2 separate regions of the Homo sapiens genome follow, and region 2 is linked to region 1. The links are contacts of gene promoters, found by promoter capture Hi-C in blood cells and fetal thymus (Javierre and others, 2016). All regions are on one chromosome and are shown on one strand. Each heading gives the region's core, a stretch centred on a gene start or on the middle of the fragment in contact. The rest is flanking DNA. Distances are from core to core; before and after follow the strand shown.

Evidence for each region. The method cuts DNA at HindIII sites, captures the fragments that hold promoters and counts their contacts. A CHiCAGO score of 5 or more calls a contact.
Region 2: a fragment that was not itself captured here is called in contact with the fragment with the promoter of PDHA1 in region 1 in 1 of 17 cell types (neutrophils); the score reaches 9.5 in neutrophils.

Annotation. Positions count from the first base shown.
Region 1 is chrX:19,339,792-19,345,424 of GRCh38, reverse strand. PDHA1 (pyruvate dehydrogenase E1 subunit alpha 1) reads right to left here and starts at 1,498. Exons shown (of 11, transcript NM_000284.4): 1 at 1,331-1,498. The coding sequence starts at 1,387. The HindIII fragment of the contact is 3,035 bases long and covers 1-2,547 here.
Region 2 is chrX:19,993,772-19,999,681 of GRCh38, reverse strand. No RefSeq gene overlaps it. Among named protein-coding and RNA genes, the nearest start is that of BCLAF3, 5.7 kb to the right of the region's middle. The HindIII fragment of the contact is 9,736 bases long and covers 1-5,910 here.

The DNA of each region.
Region 1 (5,633 bases), core at 249-2,748:
CTAATTTTGTATTTTTAGTAGAGACGGGGTTTCACCATGTTGGCCAGGCTGATCTCGAACTTCTGACCTCAGGTGATCCACCTGCCTCAGCCTCCCAAAATGCTGGGATTACAGGCCTGAGCCACCGCACCCGGCAGTTTTGTCATTATTTTAGGCAACAGGATTCCTAGAGGGGCATACCTCTTACCTTTTGACAATCTCTGCCTGTACTAAGTAGAGCGGTATCAAGTCCTGGGGGAAATACCAGAATCCCGAGGCCTGCAGTTACACCAATTAACACGACCTCACTGTGCCTAGGGGGGTCAGAATGCTAGCTCAGGTGTTAGGCACCTCTAAATGCTGAGGCCATGAAATAGTGCTAAACTCTACCCCCCACCCCTCAAGCATCGTTGCTCTTTGCTTTAGCTACTTGTACCCTAAGAATGTGTAGGTAAGGGGAGGGGAGGGCAGCGTCCTCTGAGTTCTGCTTCGGCGCTCCTGAACTCACTGCCAAGAAAAGCTCAGATGTTGAGGGAGAGGGAAGAGGAGGAAGTTTGTTTCTGAAGAGGCTGACCTTCTGTGAACCCGCCTCAGAACTGAGCACAGGTGTTCAAGAAATGTATACCGAACTGGAGACTCAATAAATAACACTATTCAACACACATGTTATCGATTATGTGCCAGGTGCTATTTGGAATCGTTTCCACACGTGTCACTCGTTGAATCCTCAAGACAACCCCAAGAGGTGGGGACTCTTATTATCTCCATTTTAGAGTTAACTGATAACATTTCAGAGATAACTCTTATCTCCATTTAGAGATTAACTCCACTTCGAGCAAACATTTTAGGAAACCGGGTCCCCGGGACGTTTAAAAACTTGCTCAAGGTCACAGGGCTAGTCAATGGTGAGGGTGCTGTTTGAACGAAGCCACCCTGTCTCCAGATTCTACGCTATTACAAAGCCTCTCGGTCAAGAGAAATTAAGTTAGAAGATCCGAAATGAGTGGGGTCAATTGGAGACTCGAAGGAGGCCGAGGCCACCCTTTCCGTGTCCTGTAACCCAACAGGCACCTCTTGAGCACACCGACTTCGCCTGGCGCACAGCTGGGCCCGGGGGCGGGAGGTGGGTGTCGAGAAGGGGGAAGTTCACACGGACCTTGGCGTGATCCCGGTCCGTGCCGCTTCTCCCGAGGCCAGGAACGGAATGCAGGGCGCGGAGGCGAAGTAAAGGCTCCCCGGCTCCCCTGGCGCCTTCCACCCCGCTCTGGGTGGCCCGGCCTGGCCCGCCCTGCCCTCCGGCCCCGCCTCAGCCCCACTCGCGCCCCATCCCGGCCCGCCCGGGAGGTCTCACCGGCTTCTGAGAAGCGCCAGACAGCACGCGGGAGACGGCGGCGAGCATCTTCCTCATGAAGCACAGGCAGTGGCGGCAGCGGCGACTCCTCACAACCCAGGAGGCACGACGCGGGTGCCCCCAAGTCTCCTTCAGGTGCCCCAGCAGACGCCACGCCTCAGTCGCACCGCGGCGTGACAGAGTCGTAATAACGTCATGCGCTGCGCCGGGCCGCGGGCCAACCAGAACGGCGTCCAGGGGGTGCCCCGCCCCCGCTAAAGGCCTGAGGCTGCCCATTGGGTATCAGCGCCAGAGAGGGAGGGGCTGAGGGCTCTTTCCGACGCCACGCCGCGGGCGGGTGAGGAGGCGGGGCTTGATAGCGCCTGCGTGGGAAGGTGGGGCCCCCGCCTCCAGGGCGCCGCGGGAAAGGAGCCTTCCTAGATTCCGCTCTGCTGACTACCGGGGAGGTTGTGCAGGCCCCGTCCTACCGAGCGCCTACTCCTGCCGGTGCTGCAGCTCTGCAGCCCTCGTTCAGTACATCTCGTTCAGTACACTAGATGATGAAGATTAGCAGCATGCTCAGAGCCAAAAGACAGAACATCTGGTTTCTGTAAATGGTCTGCCACTAACTTTGTCTTTAAAAGATCACGTAGCAGTTGGACAGTTCTGCCCTGTCTACTTGAACGCGGATCAAAAAATTTGTTTCCCAATATATGTCGAGAGGACAATGGGAAAAATCTTTTTTCTCTAGTTATTGGTTCACAGGCTCACTGCGAGTTAACAGCGTGGCTCAGCCGATGATAAAAGCACACACAGAGACAAAACACCAAAGCAACAAGGGGCTCTATTCAGAGGATCAAAGGGCTCAGGAACCCATTGTGTTGTGTCCTAGTGGGATTGCACCTGGGGTTCCGGGTTCAGATTTGGGCTCCACATTTTAAGGGGGATAATGAGTAAACTGAGTGGAATCCAGGGGACAGTGGTCAGAACGGTGAGGGGCTGCGATTGTGACTTATGAAGAACGATTAAAGAAGTTAGGAAGAAAACAGGCTAACTAGAATTGGCTGGGTTATGATGTAACAACTGACCTCCAAATTTCAGTGATTTCAAGAATTTGAAGTGACGCGAGCCATCGTACTCGTAACACAGGTCCCTCACAGCGTGGCACCCTCTCTCTGGAACTTAGCTTGTCTCATGGATGAAGAGAAAAGGGATCATTTAAACCGGCTCTCAAAGCTTCTGCCCAGAAGTGACACATGTCACTTCCTCTCAATTTTCACGGACCAGAGCTAGTTACCCGACCATGTCTGAGTTCCACAAGGTGAAATATAATCCTCCTGCCAGGAGGAGAACAGAAAATTGGATGAACAGTAAAACCAGAGAGGATTGGATATGTCTTCACACATTTTCAGGCCAGTCATGTTCCAGGAGGAAGAGCTATTTTGTGTGTGTGTGTGTGTGTGTGTGAATAAAATCATTTCATTTCAGCATAACAATGAATTTTCTAACAATGACAATGGTCCAATGAGATAATTCTCTCCCAGTGTCACTGAAAGTATTCAAAGCAGAAGTTCAAAGCATGACCAGCTCTCAGCATAGCTAGAGAAATAATTTGGGCACTGGGCCAGACTCTGGACTGAGAGATCGTGTTGCAGTGGAAGAAAACTTCTTAAAGGAGTGAGAGGGCGCCATTAAAAGGCAGAGATGGACGTGAGAAACTTGCATGGTATGATTTCAGCAGCTGCTGCTGCTGATAGAATATGAAAGGTAAAAGAGAATGAAAAGGTTGGAGGCCAGATGTCCAGCTCAGGAGAAAAAGCTGGTCTGAATGGTTTGGGACATGTTGACCTGGTGGTGGCAGTGGCACAGCTATCTGAAGATGTCCCCCGGGAAGTTGGAGTTGTAAGTCTGGAACATTTGCTAAAAATATTAATTTGGGAGTCATCTCCACGGGGTGGTGATATTGGTTGTGCATGTACGGGAACTCTGTAGGCCATATGAATATGAATTCATTCATTCATTTGCTCATTCATCCAACACCTATTATTGAGCACCGATTTTGTGTCAGACACTGTACTACACACTGAAGATATAGCAAGGAACAAGTAAAATATAGGTCCTACTTAAATACATGATTGAACAAATCAATGGGTTAGAAGGAACAACTTTTCCTTACAGTAGAATTCCAATTAATTAATATAGAAGGAATGATGAAAATAGAAAAAGAAAATCACCATTTGGCAAAGACCACAGTAACTGTTGCAGGTGAGAATTATCATCAATACAGGCTAAAATTAGTGGGTAAATGTATGATGAGAAACAGGACATTTGCCTCATCTCAAATGATCTCTCCACTAGATTCATTACAAAGTTTAAAGTAACTTTGCAGTGCAGAAACAAAGTAACCAATTTTTCAATGACTAGGATATTTTCTCTGCACTTCTTGTTCTTCATATATATACATATATATACACACATACGTGTATATATATATATTTTATTTATTTATTTTTTTGAGACAGAGTCTCGCTCTGTCGCCCAGGCTGGAGTGTAGTGGTGCAATTTCAACTCACTGCAAGCTCCGCCTCCCAGGTTCACGCCATTCTCCTGCCTCAGCCTCCCGAGTAGCTGGGACTACAGGTGCCCGCCACCACGCCCGGTTAATTTTTTTTGTATTTTTCGTAGAGACAGGGTTTCACCATGTTAGACAGTATGGTCTTGATCTCCTGACCTCGTGATCCGCCCGTCTCAGCCTCCCAAAGTGCTGGGATTATAGGCATGAGACACTGCGCCCGGCCTCTTTTTTTTTTTTTTTTTTTTGAGACAGATTCTCACTCTGTTGCCCAGGATGGAGTACAGTGGTGACATCTTGGCTCACTGCAACATCTGACTCCCAGGTTCAAGTGATACTCCTCATTCAGCCTCCCGAGTAGCTGGGAAAACGGGCGAGCACCACCATGCCCGACTAATTTTGTATTTTTTTAGTAGAGACGGGGTTTCACCATGTTGGCCAGGCTGGTCTCAAACTCCTGACCTCAGGTGATCTGCCCACCTTGGCCTCCCAAAGTGCTGGGATTACAGGTGTGAGCCACCGCGCCCAGCTGTTTTCAGATATTTGAAAGCAGAGTTGGAAGCAACTTTGAAGGTGAGGGACACTGTGAGATGCTGTGTCAAGTGGTGACAGGTGATGATTGTGGTTAATAGTCATTAACTATAGGCTATAGTAACGTTATAGTAATGTTATAGTCATTAACTATAGGCTATAATAACTATAGGCTATAGTAACGCGCTAGAACATTCACAAAAGACTCTTGTATCAGGAGAGGAGGCCGGAGAGAAAGAAAGATTTGCAAAAGGCGGGAAGAGAAAGTCTTAAGAAAGGAGGGCTCGTTAATCTTGGGGGAAATTGTAATCCCAGCACTTTGGGAGACCAAGGCAGGAGGATCACTTGAGGCCAGGAGTTTGAGGCCAGCCTGGGCCACAAAGTGATACTCGTCTGTACAAAAAATAAAATAATTAGTCTGGTATGGTGTTGCATGCCTGTAGTCCCAGCTACTAGGGATGCTGACGAGGGAGGATTGCTTGAGCCTAGGAGTTTGAGGCTGCAGTAAGCTATGGCGGCATCGCTGCATGGCGGCCTGGGTGACAGGGCGAGACCCCATCTCTCTAAAAAACAAAACAAAAAAAACGTATCTGGGTGAAGCAGGGCAATTTTGATTAGAGACCCTGAAATATGCCTTTTTACCTTTCGTTAGCGAATCACCCTACAAGTATTCGATCAAGCTGAGCTTTAAGGCAAATCATGCTCCTTGACATGTCTCCGGTTTTCCAGTAAGAAACACCCATCCCCCAGCAGATGAATTAGAGTAGGACAATCATATACATGTGTCATAAAAGTCAACAAATCTTTGCAAATGTCTTTGAGGTACTAAGCAGCAGCTGGTGAAAGGATTATGGCTAGGGGTCATTTTAACTTTGGAACCATATAAATGTTTTTACACGACCATAAAACACAATGACATAACAATGGAAATGAAATATAACAAACCAATTTAATAACATACCAAGTTGTCAGCATAACCCCGCAGAGAATGATTTCAAGTTATTTCACACCACAGCAATGTGACTGCATATGCCTGGTGGGGTATAGCCTAAAGACAAAAGGAACTGGAAAAAAAAATCTTAAGGCGAGGCTCACACCTGTAATCCTAGCACTTTGGGAGGCTGAGGTGGGAGGATCATTTGAACCCGGGAGTTTGAGACCAGCCTAGGCAACATAGGGAGACCCCATCTCTACAGAAAAAAATCTTAAATTGTTCTCATT
Region 2 (5,910 bases), core at 1,894-4,393, 650 kb before region 1:
GTCCCCATCCTCCTGGAGCTTGTAGTCTAGCAGTGAAGAGAGACAGTAGACAATTTTAAAAGTCATTATTTGCAATTGTGATGGATGTGAAGGTCAAGCCTGCTGTTATACATATTCTTTTTCTTTTATTTCTTTTTTTTTTTTTTTTTTTGAGATGGAGTCGTGCTCTGCTGCCCAGGCTGGAGTGCAGTGGCACAATCTCAGCTCACTGCAGCCTCTGCCCCCGAGGTTCAAGCAATTCTCCAGCCTCAGCCTCCCGAGTAGCTGGGATTACAGGCGTGCGCCACCACATCCAGCTAATTTTTGTATTTTTAGTAGAGACGGGTTTTACCATGTTGGCCAGGCTGGTCTCAAACTCCTGATCTCAGGTGATCCACCTGCCTTGGCCTCCCAAAGTGCTGGGATTACAGGAGTGAGTCACCACGCCCAGCCCACATTTTCATATCATTACAGTTTGTGATGATACATTGATTTGTGAGATTCTTTGATTAAGGTCTATCTCCCTCACTGTAAGTGTCATGACAGCAAGACTGTCATATTCCTATCACCCAACATAGATATTGAGTAAATATTTGTGAGTGAATAAACACAGTTGTTACTGAGAAACTCTTTGAATTAAAATTATGGCCTCTGCCAGGCACAGTGGCTCACACCTGTAACCCCAGGACTTTGGGAAGCCAAGGCAGGTGGATCACTTAAGCCCAGGAGTTCAAGACCAGCCTGGGCAGCATAGTGGGACCTTTTCTCTACAAAAATTAAAATAACAGCCAGGCATGATGGTGCATGCCTATAGTCCCAGATACTTGGGAAGCTAAGGTGGGAGGATAGCTTGAGCCCAAGATACTTGGGAGGCTAAGGCAGGAAGTTAGTTGAAGGCTGCAGTGAGCTGTGATGGTGCCAATGTACTCCAGCCTGGGTAACAGAGGCCTTATCTCTAATATATTCATAAAAATATAATATAATAAAATTGTGGCCTTGGATCTGCATGTGTTTCTGCCAGACCCACAGTCTGATAAAGATAAAGGTCCCAGGGACCCTACTTTTCATATTTGCTATTGAATCCCCAGCACCGAGAACAGCACCTGCCACACAGTGGACACACGATAAATCTTTGTTGAATGAATGATTTCTCTATTGAGAATAAATATACCAGTTTGAATGGTCCCAGTACATATAGCAGAAAGCGATTTCAATATTAAGGGTATTTATCACACCTAATATATAACAAGCTCCAAAGGCAGCTCAATGGCGTCAGGATTCTAAGGCAGCATCTCTTTGAGTGTCTTGGCTCTGAAGAAGGTCGCTGCAGCACCAGCATCCCAACTGCACACCATCATGGTCAAAGGCAAGAAGTCAGTGGCAGGCTGCTCCTTGTTACTGCACCTTCCTTTAGCCAGGGAGGAAACCCTCTCCCAGAAGCCCCCAGCAGCAGATTTCTACTTCTCATTGGCCAGTACTAGGTCTTCCACCTACCCCTCAGCTCATCACCTGCCAAAGGGAGTGAGATTATCCCATGTTATTAGTTGAGGTAATGCTCGCTTCTGTAACAACCACAGCACACCTAAAATGCAGAATGGCTCAAATACAAGTTTTTTTCTTCCTTATGTGAAGTCCCAAACAGATGTGCCTGATTACAACGCTCCTCTGAGTCCTAAGTCAGAGACCAGACTCTCTCCATCTTGTGGCCCCCTCATCTTCCAATTGTATCACGTTTTTCTGCATCAAGCTGACAGAACAGGGAAAGAGTATGGAGAAGACACATGACTTCTTAACCACCTGGGCCCCTAAGGGACATGTACTACTTCCTCTCACATTCCGTTAGTACAACTAGTCATGTGGCCCTACTTAGATGCAAGGGATGCTGGGAAGTATATTCCCTGGCTAGTTTGCTTCTTACCAGAGATATTGCTATTCTATGGAAGAGAGAACACACATAATTTGGTGGATAGTTAGTCGTCTCTGCCATGCCATGATTGACTTAGACCAGAGCTGTTCAGTAGGAGTATCATGTGAGTCACTTGTGTCATTTTTCCATTTTCTAGTAAGGGGCCTGGGGAGGGAAGGGTGGTAAATGTTTTGAATATATTATTGTAAAATCTACCACAGAGTCCATTATGTTCTCTTTCCCTACCAGTCCAAGGGAGAGTGGGAATTGGAGTGAAAAGTTAAGACGAGACTGTGGGGTACCTAATAAATATGGGGTTGAACAAAGTAAATTCGTCAGGCAAATGAAGTTTTGGAGAGATGAATGACTTTTGAATTGGTTTTGGGGTTGTGCGTGGACACAAAAGAGACCATTTATGGTAGGAAGGGATTTGGGTATAGAGTTTCTACAGTGGGAAGGCACTGGACTTTTTCTTTTCTTTTCTTTTCTTTTTTTCTGAGTCAGAGCCTCACTCTGTTGCCCAGGCTGGAGTGCAGTGGCATAATCTCGGCTCACTGTAACCTCACCCTCCCGGGTTCAAGCGATTCTCCTGCCTCAGCCTCCAGAGTAGCTGGGATTACAGACATGCGCCACCACACTCGGCTAATTTTTGTATTTTTGTTACGGACGGGATTTCACCATGTTAGCCAGGCTGCTCTTATTTGTTTATTTCTTTGAGACAGGGTCTTGCTCTGTTGCCCAGGCCGGAGTGCAGTGGCGCAATCTCAGATCACTACAAGTTCTGCCTCCCGGGCTCAGATGATTCTCCCATCTCAGTCTCCCAAGTAGCTGGGACAACAGGTTCCTACCACCATGCCTGGCTAATTCTTTGTGTTTTTTTGTAGAGACGGTGTTTTGCCATGTTGTGTGGGCTGGTCTCAAACTCCTCCTTTTTGCCTTGCGTTAATGTAGGTAGACTATCTCAAAATGTTTTTCAAAATAATTGCTGAGTTGTAAGACACTGCTTTAAAACCACAGATATTATATGTCTTTCAGAACCAGAGCCAAGCCACTACACCTATTACATTACAAAAGAGTTCATCAGAAATAATTTATAGGACCAGAGGACTGACTGGTAGCAACTACCAAATTTTGTTTAGGAATTTGTCCTCCATCTCAGTAGGAAAACAGACATACAGGCAGTGACTAGAATGAGCAAAAAGAAACCTGCAGCATAAGCCTGTCTAAAAACATTTTCATCCAAACAATATAAATCAGTTCTGTCTGCACTCTGCTGTTGACAAAGCCATTTAAAAAGCAAAGGTAAAGAAAGGACAGCGTCCACAAAAAAATGCCTATATCATGGGATGGAAGACAAGGAGGAGGGAACAGGGCCAGCTAAGCATTATACATTAAATTTCATTAATAGCGTTAAGCCACACAACCAAAGTCAGATCGTTAAGGCAAGGGAAAATGCACCTGGTTCTGCCAGTCCTGGGTTCTAAGCGCTAATGGAGATGCTGAAGTCACACCATCACCATACAAACTAGGGTCAATCTGGACAACAGTGTTTTCAAGGGTTGAGAAAGCTATTTGTCCTACTGCTTCACAATTTTCTTTTTCTCACGTCAGCATTTAAAAAAGAAAGCCACACAGAAGGGTGGCGGGAGAACGTGCCAAGGCAGCTGATAGGTCTCCCCAGAAGCTGATGCTCTCCAAAAAATGACGATGGCAGTATGTACTTTGTCTAAGTCTGCATTGCAGCCTGAATTGCTCCTTTTAAAACTGTTTACATTTTTCTCTGGTTTAAGGATTTTAAAACTACCCTGAATTACAGCAAGCCTCTATGTCCATGTTCTGGTTTGCAGGGAGTACAAGCGATGCAGCAGTGGTTCTCGTTTGAGGGTGCGTCAGAGTCACCTGGAGACTTGCTGAAATGAAGTTTGCTGGGCCCTACTCCTAGAGTTAGTTTCTTTCTTTTTCTTTCTTTCTTTCTTTCTCTTTCTTTCTTTCCTTCCTTCCTTCCTTCCTCCTTCCTTCCTTCCCTCCCTCCTTCCCTCCCTCCTTCCCTCCCTCCTTCCCTCCCTCCTTCCTTCCTTCCTTCCTTCCCTCCCTCCCTCCCTCCCTCCCTCCCTCCCTCCCTCCCTCCCTCCTTTCTTTCTTTCTTTCTTTCTTTCTTTCTTTCTTTCTTTCTTTCTTTCTTTCTTTCTTTCTTTCTTTCTTTCAGAGTCTTGCTCTGTCACACAGGCTGGAGTGCAATGGTGCAATCTCGGCTCACTGCAACCTCTGCCCCCCAGGTTCAAGTAATTCTCCTGCCTCAGCCTCCCGAGTAGCTGGGATTATAGGTGTGAACCACCACGCCTGGCTAATTTTTGTGTTTTTAGTAGAGACAGGGTTTCCCCATGTTGGCCAGGCTGGTCTTGAACTCCTGACCTCGGAAGATCCACCCACCTCAGCCTCCCAAAGTGCTTGGATTACAGTGAGCCACCATGCCCAGCCCTAGAGTTTCTGATTTGGTGGCTTGAAGCAGGAGCTTCACTATGTAGTGTATGGTCCCACCCTTGCTTGTTTTCTTCTGATATGACAGTGGTAAGCTCTCCGGCAGGGTCTATTCTTTCAGTCTGGATCCCAGACAGAAGAGTCAAAGTTGCCCCACGATGGATGTGAAATGTAAGTGAGAAATAAACATTTGCTGTTCTTTCTTTCTCCAAGCCACTGAGGTTTTGGGATTGTTATTGTAGCATAGCTTATTCTTACCAATACAAATTCCTTGTTTGAAGCAGAGCTGGCATTCTGCAGCAGATTTGGCTTCACATGAAACCCAAAGGAAAGGAAAGGCAAGGGAGATGATACTCCGTTTCTCTTAGGCTTGCTCTGCGTACATGTGCATGTATGCTATTCATATAGACACCAAGGACTATGTGCAAACTGTTTAACCTCTCTTTCCACACAAGTAGACAGCAAATAGGGCCAAGGACCATCTACTTGTGCTGTCTGTTGACAATTGTGAGTCTGGAAAAAGACCACCTTGTTCAAAGAGGAGTCAAAAGAAATATATATATATATATATATATATATATATACATACATACATACACACACACATATATATACACATACACAAATATATATACACATATACATATATATCTGTGTGCATATATGTATATGTATGTATATATGTGTGTATATATTTTTTATTTATAAATATAAATATGTGTGTATATAAATTTATATTTGTGTGTACATATATTTATATTTACATATAATGAAGACACAGAAACCATGGGAATGGAAGAGAAAAAAACAGCACATTTCTTTTTTTTTTTTTTGAGATGGAGCATCGCTCTGTCACCCAGGCTGGAGTGCAGTGGCGCAATCTTGGCTGACTGCAACCTCCACCTCCTGGGTTCAAGCGATTCTCCTGCCTCAGCCTCCTGAGTAGCTGGGACTACAGACGTGCGCCACCACGCCCAGTTAATTTTTGTACTTTTAGTAGAGACGGGGGTTTCCCCATGTTGGCCAGGCTGGTCTCGAACTCCTGACTTCAAGTGATCCACCCTCCTTGACCTCCCAAAGTGCTGGGATTACAGGCGTGAGCCACTGCACCTGTCCCAAAGGAGCATACTTCTGAAAAGGATTATCTGCAGAATCTGAAAGAAAAATTTCACAACCGGTTTAGCATCCTTTTGGAATATGATAGGCTTTCTATAAAATCAGAACAGAAATTCGTAAGGAAATGAAAGGGTGAGATGGAGATTACTACAGTAACGGGAGAGAACCGGGCGGGAGAGAATACAAAGAAACAAAAATCTCAATAATAAAGTTTGAGTCAAAATAGAGACAGAAATAATGCTTTAGAAAGCCATATCAGTATCAATAAAGCAAACTTGAGGTCTACTGGAAATGCTGGAAATGGATGAAAGACGAAAATGATAAAACAGGCCGGTGCGGTGGCTCCTGCCTGTAACCCCAACACTTTGGGAGGCCAAGGCGGGTAGATCACTTGAGGTCACAAGTTCGAGACCAGCCTGGCCAACATGGTG